5 separate regions of the Homo sapiens genome follow, and regions 1, 2, 3 and 4 are each linked to region 5. The links are contacts of gene promoters, found by promoter capture Hi-C in human tissues and cell types (Jung and others, 2019). All regions are on one chromosome and are shown on one strand. Each heading gives the region's core, a stretch centred on a gene start or on the middle of the fragment in contact. The rest is flanking DNA. Distances are from core to core; before and after follow the strand shown.

Region 1 (2,700 bases), core at 92-2,591, 620 kb before region 5:
TCAGAGAAAGAATAACTTCTGTAAATCGTCCAGTTCTAACTGGACCCTGTTAAAACATTCAGCACACCTTTATCCACTTTAAAAACCTTACCCCACAAACATATGCAGCTTTAAAAGTTTTATGCCAGGCAGGGCGCAGTGGCTCACGCCCGTAATTACCAGCACTGTGGGAGGCGGAGGCAGGAGCATCACGATCTGAGGTCAGGAGTTCGAGACCAGCCTGGCCAACATAGTGAAACCCCCGTCCCTACTACAAATACAAAAATTAGCCGGGCGTGGTGGCGCACGCTTGTAATCCCAGCTACTTGGAGGCTGAGGCAGGCGAATCGCTTGAACCTGGGAGGCAGAGGCTGCAGTGAGCTGAGATTGCAGTGAGCTGAGACTGCACCATTGCACTCCAGCCTGGGCGACAAGAGCGAAACTCCGCCTCAAAAAAAAAAAATGCCATAAATATCCTGATTGTTTTCCAAAAGGATCCTTTGTCTGCTGAGGGAAATGTCTAAATATTCACATTTTATAATGAAACACGAGAACAGAAATGTGCACAACGCAAGCACTGCGTTTAACATATGTGCGAGTGTGTTTTCCTATGAGCCTGAGGACTGACAGGTGCAGAGAGGCTTTCAGTGGGGGTCAGCCTTCTCCTCCCCGTTCGAGTCTCTGACCGGGCTAGGGCTAAGAAGTGGGAGCCTGGCAGATAGGGCAGGCCCAGAAGAACAAACAGTCCCTGATGTTTTCCAGGAAACTGCCTCCCTGACAGTGCCCGCAAGTGGCCAGGAGGGAAACGCAACAGAGATCAAGAAAGGTGCAGGTAGGGGAGGGAGATAGCTCCCTAAGTGTTGTAGGGGCATGAAGTGGGTGAGGGTGACCGTGCTGCTCAGAGTACAGGGCCTTGAGGCCTTCCCTCTGCTTGAGGGTTTTTTGGGTTTTATTTTTGTTTTTGAGACAGGGTCTCATTCTGTCTCCCACGCTGGAATGCAGTGTCCCGATCTCAGCTCACTGCAACCTCTGCCTCCCAGGTTCAAGCGATCCTCCTGCTTCAGCATCCCGAGTAGCTAGGATTACAGGCGCACACCACCACTGCCTGGCTAACTTTTGTATTTTTAGTAGAGACAGGGTTTCACCATGTTCGTGAGGTCAGTCTCGAACTCCTGACCTCAGATGATCCGACCGCCTCGGCCTCCCAAAGTGCTGAGATTACAGGGTGAGCCACGCGCCCGGCCTACTTGAGGTTTTATTCTAGTTTTGCTTTGCTTGCCGGGAGCCCTGGTACAGGTCACCAGGCGTTAGTCCTCTTCACCGCCACTCCAGCCAATGGCATTTTTGAGAAATACAGAAGAGGGCTTGGGAGCTGGGGAATTGTCCTGCTTTGTCGGGCGAGGGCGCTGTTGAGCAAGAAGCGTTCCTTCCCTGCGCTGGGCAGCTCTCGTCGGTGGACTGCAGGGAACCCAGGGCGGTGCACAGTACCAGAGCACAGACTGGCGCTGGTCGCTCTGCGCAACCAGCTGGGCTCTGCAAAGAGCGGGCTCCGGGCTAGGGGTGAGGATTGGCGGGCTCTACAGCCCCCAGGGAACAACCACTCTTCCCACACCCACATCCGTGGACAGAACTACTTCAGCGTGACAGGCTACCTGCTGATCAGCGAGAAAGTTAACGTTTAACATTTCTCTGCAAGTAAATTTTTCTCACAAACGGCCTTATCAAAACAGAAAACAAAACCCAAAACCATCTGTCTTACTTAGGGAGCGTGCTATCGTATTTTTATTCCTGCAAGAAACTGATAGGCTCCACATCCATTTCATTTAAAAGAAAACTGGATAATTGTAAACATCTATATTCTCACACAAGCACCTTTAAATTTTATGTTTAAGAACTAAGTTTGAATGCAAAAGAAGGGATTTTACATTATTTAGATATATGTATAAATAATCGGGGACTAAAAATCATCTCTTGTTAATTGATTTATCTTTTATCTGCTTCCTTCTTTGAAGTAAATTAAAATTCCCAATATTCAGATTAATTTAATAAAGTCGTGTAAATATCAAAATACGGTGAAGGTCTGTTTTCCCACAATCAAGTTTTCTTACCATATTACAAATAACTGCACGTTAGTCCATATAACACGTGTTACGTAAATTCAATACATGGTCTTTCCCAGCCTAATTCTTCAGTGTTTTAAGAGTCATCAAAAAAAAAAAAATTAAGTAAAAGTCATCAATTTATATTTTAAAATGTAACAAAGGAAAGGTAAATTCTATGAAAGCAAGTCATTACATCAGTAAGTATAAAGCAACTGAGTTACCAATGCAGAGTAACAAAAGAATGGTGGAGGTCATTAATCTTGCCCACAAAGCCCTCTGCTTGAGTGTATTTGCTCAGACAACATGAGATACCCCAGGAGTGCTTGACGGGGCTGAAAGTGCTTCAGAAAGGGCCAGACGCGGGGTGGGGGCTTTTAACGGCAACTCTGGGCACCTCAGATGGGGCTCAGTCCTATTTGCTCTGTGGCACCGGCCCAACGCTAATGGTGCTCTAAGCTTTTCTCCAAGGCAAGCGATAGTGGCAGCCTCTCCCCTCCCCTCCCGACCTGTTGCTTTGCAGAAGAAACCGCAACAGGGAGGACATTCCTTATAATTCCCATGAAACGACTACGGTTTTTTTTTTTTTTTTTTTTTTTTGAGATGAGTCTTGCTCTGTCGC
Region 2 (2,700 bases), core at 1-2,500, 580 kb before region 5:
TTCCGGGTCCCCGCCTCCCCCGCCGTCCCCACCCCCGCGCCGCCTGGCCCGGGGGGGCGGCGCGGCCCTTCCGGCCGGGGCGGGGCCGGGCCTGGGGCGCTGGGGCGGGCGGGCAAGGCGGGCTCGCCCTGCCGGCGGCGCGGCCATGCTCATCACGCTGTGCTACCTGTACCTGTGGGCGCGCTGGGGTCGCCGGCCGGCTGAGCTCGTGCGCGCCACGGTGCGGCGGCTGCGTGCCTCGCGCTGTTCCTTCACCTTCTGCGGCGCGGCCGCGCAGCCCCCGGGCGCCCGCGTGTGCCTGAGCCGTGGCGGCCGCGTCTTCTGCGTCAGCGACAGCCAGGTGGGCGGGTCGGGCGGGCGGGCGACCCGGGCCCCGCGAGCCGGAAGTGCCCCCGTCCCTGCGCCTCGTCCCCGCCGGGAGCCCGGGAGTTCGGGAGCCCCGGAGTGGCGCCCTCAGTGCGGCCTGTGCGGCCCGGGAGGGGCTGTTGCCCCGGGGCCCAGAGAGAGGCCGGAGGTGCGGGACTCGGACCACGGACCCGGTCGCCTCTTCCCGGCCAGCCGGGCGGTGCTGGACGCGTGACTCTAGGCGCGCACCTGTGAGGACGTGAGCTGTGGATTGACAGCCGGACGCCAGCAGTGCCCACCTGGGGTCGCCCCCAACCTCCTCTCCCACACTTCGAGCCGGCGTTTGGGTGACCGTGAACCAGGAGAGACAGCTGTGGCGGGCCGGGAGCGGTGGCTTATGCCTGTAATCCCTGCACTCTGGGAGGCCTAGGAGGAAGGACAGCTTTGAGCCCAGGAGATGGAGACCAGCCTGGGCAACATAGCTAGACCCCTCTCTACAAAAAACAAAACAAAAAAAACACTTAGGTCGGCGTGGTGGCACGCGCCTGTAGTCCCAGCTACTCTGGAGGGTGAGGCGGGAGGGTCACTTGATCCCGGGAGGTTCACTTGAGCCCCGGAGTTTGAAGCTACAGTGAGCTATGATTGAGCCATTGCACTCCAGTCTGGGTGACAAAGCAAGACCCTGTCTTAAGAAAAAAAAAAAAAAATCCCAAACAAAAAACTCCCACCTGTGTCATCAGCTTTTTGTCAGATGTCCCCAAATTTACAAAAACTGCCCTTTTCCCTCTCCATCTTCTGTCAGTTGGTTGCATCATTCACCAACTTGGGCACCCGACTGATGGTCTTTGCGTCTTTTAAATTTCAGTTGACAGTCAGCCTTTGTTTTTTTTGACCCAGTGCTTAGGATGGTGGTTACGTGTTCAGCCCACTCTGTCACCTACCTTGTGACTTGGGCCAGTCAATTAATCTCTGTAAAAAGTCTGCTGCCTTGCTGTAAAGGGAACAATAGATCTTTCCATTCAGCTGTTTTTGGAAATGGGCTTAGCTTCACAGTGCAGTACTGCACAAAATTTCATGGACATCGGTAGCATTGTTCTCATTAATATTTAAACGTGTTTTGCTTTTAATCTGTTTCTTGTCCCTTTCCTCTGTTTTCTGGAATATTGCCTCACTTTTAGCACTAAAATGACGTTTTCTGCATATGTCACACCGTAAAGCCCCTGTGGGGAATTGAATCTTATCTCAGGTTTGAACATTGCCTGGAGGCTGTGCTTAGATATGGGTTGAAATTGTGCCACTAGCAAATAAAAAATACTCTTTCTTGTTAGTACCATATATGTATTATGTCACACTGAATATGAATGACTGTTTTCTCAGGTCCCCCAAGGTACTAGTTATGCAAATAACTAGTACCACCTCCACATAACTGACACTACCCAGACAAAAGGGGAAGAAGTTCATGCATTACATACAATGTATGGCTTAGAGCGTTGGGAATTAACCTGATTGAGAAAGATAACTCAATAAAATGGCAAAAAATTGAGGGGTGAGCTTTTTGTAGTAGTTTCCAAATTGGATCAATTACATTTAGGATTTAAGTCAGAATAGAAATTTTGGACATATAAAAACATGGAGATGGGAATGTCTGATTTTCTTGGACAGTTTTACTTTTGAACATTTTCATGACTCCGCTGGCCTTCTGTTAACTACACTAACCATAACTAGTGATTTTCAGCCCTTGCCTACCTGTGCAGGCCGGAGTAGGAGTGGCCTGGTGCTTTCATGGATTCTGTAACTCTGCTCTGTCACTCTGCACAGTAAGCTTTGCCTACAGATTTGGTTAGATATTGCTGCGTCATTTCCTAGTTTTCCAGACTAGATGGGATGGCCATGCTCTGCATCCCTGTAGCCTTTAAATCACAGTTCCTATTCTAGTTCGTATCTTTTTCTTATTAGGAAATGAGACTGTTTAGCATAGCAGCTTGACCTGAAATAGTAAATTTAATAGTTGTTGGGTTTAAGCTGTGATGTTGAAGGTCTACAGGTGGAAAGCTTGACCATTTATTTGTGGTTGGCTACTGTTATTTTGAGATTTAAAATATGATCAGGTTGATGATTTGGTGGATATCTCAGTCTGCTTGGGTCTACTTTTGAGGGATACCTCAGTCTACTTGGGCTGAAATAAGGACACACCTGAATCTCATGCCCATATGTTGAGATGGATCTCATTCTGTCACCCAGGCTGGAGTGCAGTGGCGCGATCTCCGCTCACTGCAATCTCCACCTCCCAGGTTCAAGTGATTCTCCTCCTTTGGCGTCCTGAGTAGCTGGGATTACAGGCATGAGCCACCACGC
Region 3 (2,700 bases), core at 105-2,604, 560 kb before region 5:
GGGTATATTGTCTTTTTTTTTTTTTTTTTTTTTTTTTTGAGACAGGGTCTCATTCTGTCATCCAGGCTGGAGTGCAGTGGCATGATCATGGCTCACTGCAGCCTTTACTTCCTGGGCTCAATCCATCCTCCCACCTAATCTTCCCAAGTAGCTGGGAATACAGGCGTGTGCCACCACACCCAGCTAGTCTTTTGTTTTTAGTAGAGATGGGGTTTCACCTTGTTGCCCAGGCTGGTCTTGAACTCCTGGGCTTAAGCGATCCTTCCTGCCTCGGCCTCCCCAAGTGCTGGGATTACAGGCATGAGCCACTGCATCTGGCCTGTCTTTTTACATAATATCAAGTGAAAGTCAATTTTGTAGCTCTCCTTTATCCTCTCTATTTCCAAACACAAAAGACAGCAAGGATAGCCAAAAGTTAAAAATAACTTTTTCCCTTTAGTCTTGTATTTTCAAATTCTTTTTTTTTTTTTTTTTTCTAGACGGAGTGTCGTTCTGTCGTCCAGGCTGGAGTGCAGTGGTGTGGTCTCGGCTCACCACAACCTCTGCCTACTGGGTTCCAGTGATTCTCCTGCCTCAGCATCCCGAGTAGCTGGGACTACAGGTGCACGCTACCATGCCCGGCTAATTTTTGTATTTTTAGTAGAGGCGGGGGTTTCACCATGCCATCCAGGCTGGTTTCGAACTCCTGACCTCGTGATCCACCTGTCTCGGCCTCCCAAAGTGCTGGGATTACAGGTGTGAGCCACCGCGCCTGGCCCTGTATTTTCAAATTCTTTACCTCTGCGTTTCCAGCCTTGCTCCATCCAATTTGTTACTAGAGCTTTTTAACAATTTCACGTTGAATTAAGATGATTTGGAAGAGGAGAAACAAGAGTCAGAAAAATTAGCAGCATCCGTGATCTGACTCTGGGTACCAGTGGGTTGTTGAGATTTCTGTTCCCCACTCACTGCAGAGCTGCTGCCTGCCAATGCCCCCTGTTGGGCAGGGCCACCTGTGCTAGTTTAACCTGGGGTCTTTCACTCCCGGACTGCTTCTTGGATGTGAGTTTTAAGTTGAGCAGAGAAGATATGCCTTGCCTGCTGCCATACATTGTAACATCAAGTCAAGAGCTTTAGTTACTTAACAGATTTCTGCTGGCTGCTATTATAGGAGGAAACTCCTTTGTTTAGGGACAGCCAGGGCTTCCTTAGCTTTGATCTTTGGGAGTGAGCCTTTTGCTTGACTTCCCTTCTCTTTTCCATGCCTTTGTTTCCATCTCGAAGTGCAAATTTAAAGTGTCCTGTTTGCCTTTATCCACTGGAAGGCAAACACCCTGGACGACGTATCAGTGACAGCGCGGTTCTGCTTTGATCGGAGCACCCAGCGCTGCTTGAAGGCGTTTGCATGGTCCATGGCTCATGGACCACGCTCCTAGAAAACGGAAATGCACTTAGGTGAGGAAACAGTTGGCAGAGTGGAGAAACTTGATCCGGGATGTGTGGATGTATTCTTTGGGCTCTTCCGGTCCTTCCTCTTCCTTTGTTTATCTCCTGCCTCATTCCTCTTCAGAGGTGTGTGGGAATTTCATCATTGGCTCCTTTTACACTGCCAGTGCCTGCTACCGCAGGGGGCTAAATCAATGTTTTTACAGCTAAATTCCGGGTTGAGTCTCCATTGGCTGAGCGGTTCTCCTCCTCCTTTGATTGCTCTGAGGACAATGGTGCCTTTAGCTTCCCGCGGGAGGTTGCCCTGTTCGTTTCCCTGTTTCCCACGCACCTTCATCCCAGAAGTCTGCCCTGCCACGGTGTTAGTTTATCTTCTCATCTTCCTGAACTGACGTCCTTTCCCCCATTCCCAAAGCTGAAATCAACGAACTCTCTGTCCTGAATCAAAGATGTCATTTCTGAAATGTAGAACTCTGCTGAAACATTGGGTGGGCCTGACCCTCTAGGTGAATTCTGCTTCCCTTGGCTGTGTGTCTGCGAGGAGGTGGGAGAAGTAGGTGGTAAAGTGGAAGGAAAGATACAAGTAGAGCTAAATGAAAATTCTGGAGTTTCTCTTTGTCCAAATATTCTACACAGGTTAGTGAGTTGGCCATAAAGGCCTGCGTTTATTCTTTTCCCCTCAAACGCAATGTTTCTCAAGTTTTTTTTTTTCATGATTGTTTTTCCGAGGAGAATAATTAAATTCACGTTCACTCTGAGAAGAGAAATGAGCTACTAAGGAATAAGATTTTGTTGTGGGGGGCCGGACATGGTGGCTCACACCTGTAATCCCAGCACTTTGGGAGGTTGAGGCAGGAGGGTCGCTTGAGCTCAGGAGTTTGAGACCAGCTTGGGCAACATAGCGAATTCTCGTCTCTACAAAAAATACAAAAATTAGCCCGTCATAGTGGTGCATGCCTGTCGTCCCAGCTACTCGGGAGGCTGAGTTGGGAGGATTGCTGGAGCCCAGGAAGTCGAGGCTGCAATGAGCCATGACTGCACCACTCCAGCCTGGGTGATAAAGTAAGACCCTGTCTCAAAAAAAATAAAAATAAAAAATAAAAAAGTTGAGGGATAGGATTGAGCCTTGGAGGGCCACAAACTGTTGTAATGTCTAAGATTTTTTTCACCTCCCCATTCCCTGCCAGGTTCGGTTTTTGCCCACTAGGGATGATGTGGTTTCTCATGAGGTTACTTGCTCTAAAGGACTTTATATTTTGGAACCATAAGAGCACC
Region 4 (2,700 bases), core at 101-2,600, 540 kb before region 5:
GGGATTGGATGCCTGGGCTGGCTTTCTGCTTCCTGTGCCCTGCAAGACACTCTGTTGCTGGGAGTCAAAGATCTCTCACCACAGGGTGTCGCTGCTGAGCTAGGCTGCCTCGCATACAGGACCCTAGAACTATAAAGTTGTTCTTCAGAGATTTAATTTTTTTCTGTCTATATCAGTTTCACATAGTATAATTTTATAGTTTTCCATTATATTGGTGGCACTTTCTTTTGGGTCTGCAGAAATTATTTCAATGTCCCAGTTAATAATATTCATCTTTCATTCAACGTTTACTGTGTCCTAGGTACTATTATAGTATGGGATATGAAAGAACAAAATAAATATGCTAGTTATCTAAATAGTTTTACTGCGTACCAGCTGTGTTTACACAGTTTGGTGCCTTGACACTTGCTCTTTATGACGAATAGCGCAGAAGATTTATGTGCTTCTCCGTTACTGTGATATAACTGGAAAGAATAGTAGCAAGACCCAAAGAGAAAAAACACTCGCCTCAGCGACGGTCAGCCCTTGGCATTTGGGAAGGATGTGCTCGGAGACCTTCATCGACACCCAGACACCATGGTAGCGTGTGATTCCCACTATAAAACCCAGTCATGTGTGGCTCCATCAGTGTCACTGTGCACGATACCAAGAGGAAGCAGGGCTTGGCTGAGATGCAGGCTGTGGGCGGCTGAGCTGGGCTTCCTCCGACCAAGGCTTTCACGTTTAATTGAACCTCCCAGGAGCAGGATTGAAATTTGGGTCTCAGCAAAATGACAAAAAGTTAAACCATAAAACAAACACACAAACACACGTTTACCACACACCTATCTCCGTAGAAAGAAGACTGGGCCAGGTGCAGTGGCTCAAGCCTGTAATCCCAATGCCTTGGGAGGCTGAGGCAGGTGGATCGCTCAAGCCCAGGAATTCGAGACCAGCCTGGGCAACCTGGCAGAATTTCGTATTCTTTACAGAAGATACAAAAATTAGCCAGGCATGGTGGCGCATACCTGTAGTCCTAGCTACTCGGGAGGCTGAGGCAGGAGGATTGCCTGAGCCAGGGAGGTTGAGGCTGTAGTGAGCTATGATTGTGCCACTGCACTCCAGCCTGGGCAACAGAGTGAGACCCTGTCTCAAAAAAAAAAAAAAAAAAAGGAAACAAGACTGGAAGGAAATCTGGTATATATGGGACTTATTTGTGGTGGAGTGCTTAAGGGTGATTTTAATAATCTTTTAAAACTTTCTCTGTATTTTCCAAATTTTCTATAATGATTATATATATAATAAGCCAAATTAGTTATTAGTTATTTTATAATGAGCCAAATTGGTTATTTGTTATGAGTTATTTTATAATGAGCCAAATTAGTTATTAAAAACTAAAAACAAATGACTGCGTGTCATTGGACTTTGAAGGCATCTCACACATGGTCACACTTGAATGTTAAAAGGCAGGGAATCTCATAGGTGTTGATACTTTGGTTAATATTAATATTTGACATATTATTTAGAAAGGGTTCGCTCTGATAGTAAAACACGTGACTCTTGTTCATGGCCTGTGGCAGCTGTGACTTCCAGGGTTAACTGTGAGCTCTGAGTTGGTGTGTGGGGGCCTCCGAGCTGAAGCTGTCCCTTTGCTTCTGTGGGTGGAAGGTACCCCTGGGTGCCCTACCCCTGCTTGGATGTTCCAGTTTCTTGGCAGAGCCCTTTGAACTGTTTCTCCAAGACCATATATATGGGGACCTCTCCATGGCTTCCTCTCTGCAGATGTTGGTGGGTGAGAGACTGATACACCACATGGCTCACTGTGGGGTGTCCGGGGTGCGATCACCTGGTGGCCACCACATCTTCCCGCCACCAGTGGGTGACAGGCAGTCAGCAGCAATACATCTTTACTGTGCTGGGACATGAATGTTTTTGAGAAACACTGATTTTATAGAAGAAACATAATCCTTTCCCTTACAGAACACCAGAAAAAACATAATTCTTTTATATTTTATAGAAACATTTTAATAGATTTTATTTTCTATCGAATCTGATGTTCTAGAGAAAATGTAATTCTTTCCCAGTTGAGAAGCTAGCTGCCTTGTTTCTGTTTCTCTGGGTTCCATTTTCCTTTTTATCTCTGCCAGAGCAATGGCAGAAAGAAAGCACAGGCTGCCACGCTCTGCAGGGTCTCACTGGGAGGGGCAGCTGGCGGGTTAGGACCGGCTGGGACCTGAATCTGTGTGTGGGGCAGAGCCAGCCCCCCACCCTCCACCCCTGCAGAGTTGCCTGCCAGTGGACCCCTTTTGGTCCCCCCAGTGAGTCCAGAGGAAGCAGAAGAAGGTGGGATGTGCCACCCCTAGGAAGGTCGGCACCTTTACCTTGGGGAACTGGACGTGCTGCCCCCAGGAAGGTCGGCACCTTTACCTTGGGGAACTAGAGAGCTTGTGCATTGCTCCCGTAGCCTGGGACATCTGCTTAGGATCTGGGGAGCACAAGAATTTTTCCAAAATGAAAAAGCTTGGGAACCTTGTGGGTGTTCATCGTGGCCAACGGTGGCTAACAGTGTGTAGGTGACCTGAGAAACACAAGCCGGCTGGACTCTTAGCAGGGGTCCTGTGTCCAGCTGGGATCAAGATGTAGCTGTCACAAGAAGTGACAACTGGGTTTGTTACTGAAATGATCGGGCAAAATCACCATGAGGTGTGTTTGTGTGATTTT
Region 5 (2,700 bases), core at 112-2,611:
AACAGAGCAAGACTCCGTCTCAAAAAAAAAAAAAAGAAAGCAGCTCTCTTTTGCTTTCATTGTTCACCGCAGGCCCTGGAAATTTAGCATTCTGGGCTAGATGACAAAGTAGTTTAGTTTGTTGACATACGTTAATTCATTCATTCATTTACTTAAGAGAAGGGTCTGGCTCTGTCACCCAGGCTGGAGTGCAGTGGAGTGATCGTTGCTTGCTTCAAACTCCTAGGCTCAAGCGATCCTCTCACTTCAACTTCCCAAGTAGCTGGGCCTACAGCTGCACACTGCCACGTCCCGCTACTTTTTCATGTCTGGCTGTTGCCCAGGCTGGTGTCGAACTCCTGGACTCAAGCGATCCTCTCACCTCAGCCTCCCAAAGCACTGGGATTACAGGCGTAAGCCACCGCGCCCAGCCGACACTGGTTTTAAGTAAAAGAATGAAAACTATTGCTTCAAGCAGTGTTCCCGGATGTCTATCTCTGCCCCAGTTTACCCTGACATTGGTGTCCACGCCGGCAGACGCCAGTCTGTGGATCCTCCCAGCCGTCCCATGCTGGAAGTCCAGGCTGTACACGGGCTCCTTGTTGTGCCAGGCTATTTCACAAGTGATGACTTTCATCCTCCTGAGTCTCGAAGGGGAAAAACGTTTCTCGGGCACCGTTCTACTTCTTCAAGACAGGAGAAAGCTGCAAAATGCTGGTGATGGATTAAACAACAGTGTTAACAGCAGCAAAGGGTTATTGAGCGCTGAATAGGGGCCAGGAGCCATTTAAAATGCACACTGCATTGGGAAAGGATGTTAACGTTGCCATCTGACAATAACACCTTGCTAGCTCCACCTAAAATGCTTCGCTGGGTCCTGACATCCACAAGTTTATGATACGCCGCTACATCCAGAAAAGCAAAACGAAACACCCAGGTAAAGGCTACCTAGGGGCCCCGGCCGTCTGCACGGCCTGTCCCCGCTTAGTAGGGGCTAGGGGCGCGCCCTGAGAGCCCGGGGAGGGGCCCGCCCCGGGAGGAGCCTCCCGGAAGAGGGGGCCAAACGGGGTAGGGGACCGGGGCGGCGGGGCGAGAGGAGAACCCCGCCTTTCCCAGGGACCGGGCGCTGGGCCCGGGAAGCTGGGACTGAGGCCGCCGGGAGGAGGCCGCGCGGGGCCGGGGGTGGACGGGGCCCCGCCGCCCCAACGCGCGCCGCTCCGGAGCTATCCCGGGGCCCAGGGGCCCGCCCTCGGCGAGGGCCTCTGGCCCGGACCGACGCGACCAAAAGAGCCGCGGAGCTGCCCGGGCCAGGGAAGCCGTACCTGGAGGGACCCGGACAGTCAGAGGCACCGTCACCTCCCGCGCAGCGCGCGCCGCTTCCCGCGCGCCGCAGGCCCCGCCCCCGCATGGGCGGGACCTCATAGACGCCCCGCCCCTCCAGCGGCCCTCAGGTCCCGCCCGACGTGGGCGGTACCCCAGGGAAGCCCCGCCCACTCATAGACGCCAAGGCGAGTCCTGCTCTGGCCCTGGGGTCGGAATCCCGGCCGGAATTTATGCCTGCCAGACCCACGACCGAAGGAAGAATGGATTCATTATTATTTATTATTATTATCCATTACTTATTCCTTGTTGATTCGCTCTTTTAGCAAAGGTTTACAGAGCCTGGGCTGTGTGTTAGACAGACCCTATGCTGGCGCTGGGCACTTGGAGGGCTAACACAACCGGTTCTCTTGCCCCTTCTGCAAACAAAAACTGAGATTTTTGGGTTTTCTGTATTGGCTTCTAGAACATTTTGGAGAGTTCAAAGCTATGAAATTGTTCAGTACCTAGCGCAAGGTTGCTTACATTTTATTATTATAGTAGATGCAGTTATAAACCCTTTTTAAGAACAGACTAACATTTTAAAGTGAGGCTGTAAATCAGTCGGTAGGCAGAGATAGATACCTCAGGCTTTTCGAAATGGGACGTTTCCAAATGAGACCTAATTTATCTGTGGGCTTCGCAGAAGGCCAGGAAACAAGTACCTCTGGATGCGCTGCTTTTACTGGATAAAAGAAACACACAGGGTTATCTGAGGAGCCAACTGCTCTAGGATTTTTGGAAAAAAAGAACAGACATGGATTCTTATATAAATACCGGCTGATGCTTTTAGCCAGCTTTATGAAAGGTACAGAAATTGCCTACAAATCCGTGTCTCATGTTGATGAGAATGGCTGTATGCTCCTTGAAGCCTGATTTCTACAGGAAGCTAGAATAACATAATCCGGATATGCAGTTTTTAGATTTTTCTCTTCAGGATTTACAGAGCTTGGACTGGGAATGACTATATACTTTAGATAATATGGCTGTTCTAAAAGTACAGATTCCTGGCCCTACTCAGCCCCATGATTCCGAATATCCAGCAGAGGCCCGTGCTCCAGGGGCTTGCATTTTCATAAACTCCCCGGTGGGTGTGATCATCAGTCTGTTTTGGAAAGCTCTGGATTCTTCGTGTCTCTCAAACATAAAATTTCTCCAAATTTCTCATAAATGCTGTTCATTCACAAATGAATAATCTGCCCACCTCTTGAAGTGTCACGACTCTGAACTGTGGATTTAAAAGATAAAAACACATGCTTTAAGTATTAAAAGTACATGAAGGAGTTGGCTTTCTTGGCGAACATTTTAGAGATCCGACTTCAGTGCCAACTTGATGAGCCAACACGGGCAGGGGATGCGGCT

The links. Contacts are between HindIII fragments. The study calls those that stand out against the background at their distance.
Region 1: a fragment that was not itself captured here is called in contact with the fragment with the promoter of CHAF1B in region 5 in 1 of the 25 tissues and cell types used here (dorsolateral prefrontal cortex).
Region 2: a fragment that was not itself captured here is called in contact with the fragment with the promoter of CHAF1B in region 5 in 2 of the 25 tissues and cell types used here (dorsolateral prefrontal cortex and mesenchymal stem cells).
Region 3: a fragment that was not itself captured here is called in contact with the fragment with the promoter of CHAF1B in region 5 in 1 of the 25 tissues and cell types used here (dorsolateral prefrontal cortex).
Region 4: a contact is called between a fragment that was not itself captured here and the fragment with the promoter of CHAF1B in region 5, in 2 of the 25 tissues and cell types used here (dorsolateral prefrontal cortex and hippocampus).

Annotation. Positions count from the first base shown.
Region 1 is chr21:37,008,735-37,011,434 of GRCh38, reverse strand. All of the region lies in intron 2 of RIPPLY3 (ripply transcriptional repressor 3), which reads right to left. Among named protein-coding and RNA genes, the nearest start is that of RIPPLY3, 3.4 kb to the right of the region's middle. RefSeq lists an enhancer at 1,282-1,341. The HindIII fragment of the contact is 3,348 bases long and covers 1-2,700 here.
Region 2 is chr21:36,964,084-36,966,783 of GRCh38, reverse strand. HLCS (holocarboxylase synthetase) reads left to right here and starts at 115. Exons shown (of 11, transcript NM_001352514.2): 1 at 115-340. The coding sequence starts at 146. It overlaps HLCS-AS1 (HLCS antisense RNA 1), which reads right to left and starts at 325. Exons shown (of 4, transcript NR_186434.1): 1 at 173-325. RefSeq lists silencers at 1-202, 273-602, 323-653 and an enhancer at 713-762. The HindIII fragment of the contact is 4,971 bases long and covers 1-2,700 here.
Region 3 is chr21:36,946,067-36,948,766 of GRCh38, reverse strand. All of the region lies in intron 2 of HLCS (holocarboxylase synthetase), which reads left to right. Among named protein-coding and RNA genes, the nearest start is that of HLCS-AS1, 19 kb to the left of the region's middle. RefSeq lists an enhancer at 1,340-1,893. The HindIII fragment of the contact is 5,400 bases long and covers 1-2,700 here.
Region 4 is chr21:36,925,193-36,927,892 of GRCh38, reverse strand. All of the region lies in intron 5 of HLCS (holocarboxylase synthetase), which reads left to right. Among named protein-coding and RNA genes, the nearest start is that of HLCS-AS1, 40 kb to the left of the region's middle. RefSeq lists a silencer at 1-140. The HindIII fragment of the contact is 5,011 bases long and covers 1-2,700 here.
Region 5 is chr21:36,384,053-36,386,752 of GRCh38, reverse strand. CHAF1B (chromatin assembly factor 1 subunit B) reads right to left here and starts at 1,361. Exons shown (of 14, transcript NM_005441.3): 1 at 1,302-1,361; 2 at 491-693. The coding sequence starts at 616. RefSeq lists enhancers at 1-408, 409-910 and silencers at 1,030-1,129, 1,160-1,529. The HindIII fragment of the contact is 18,705 bases long and covers 1-2,700 here.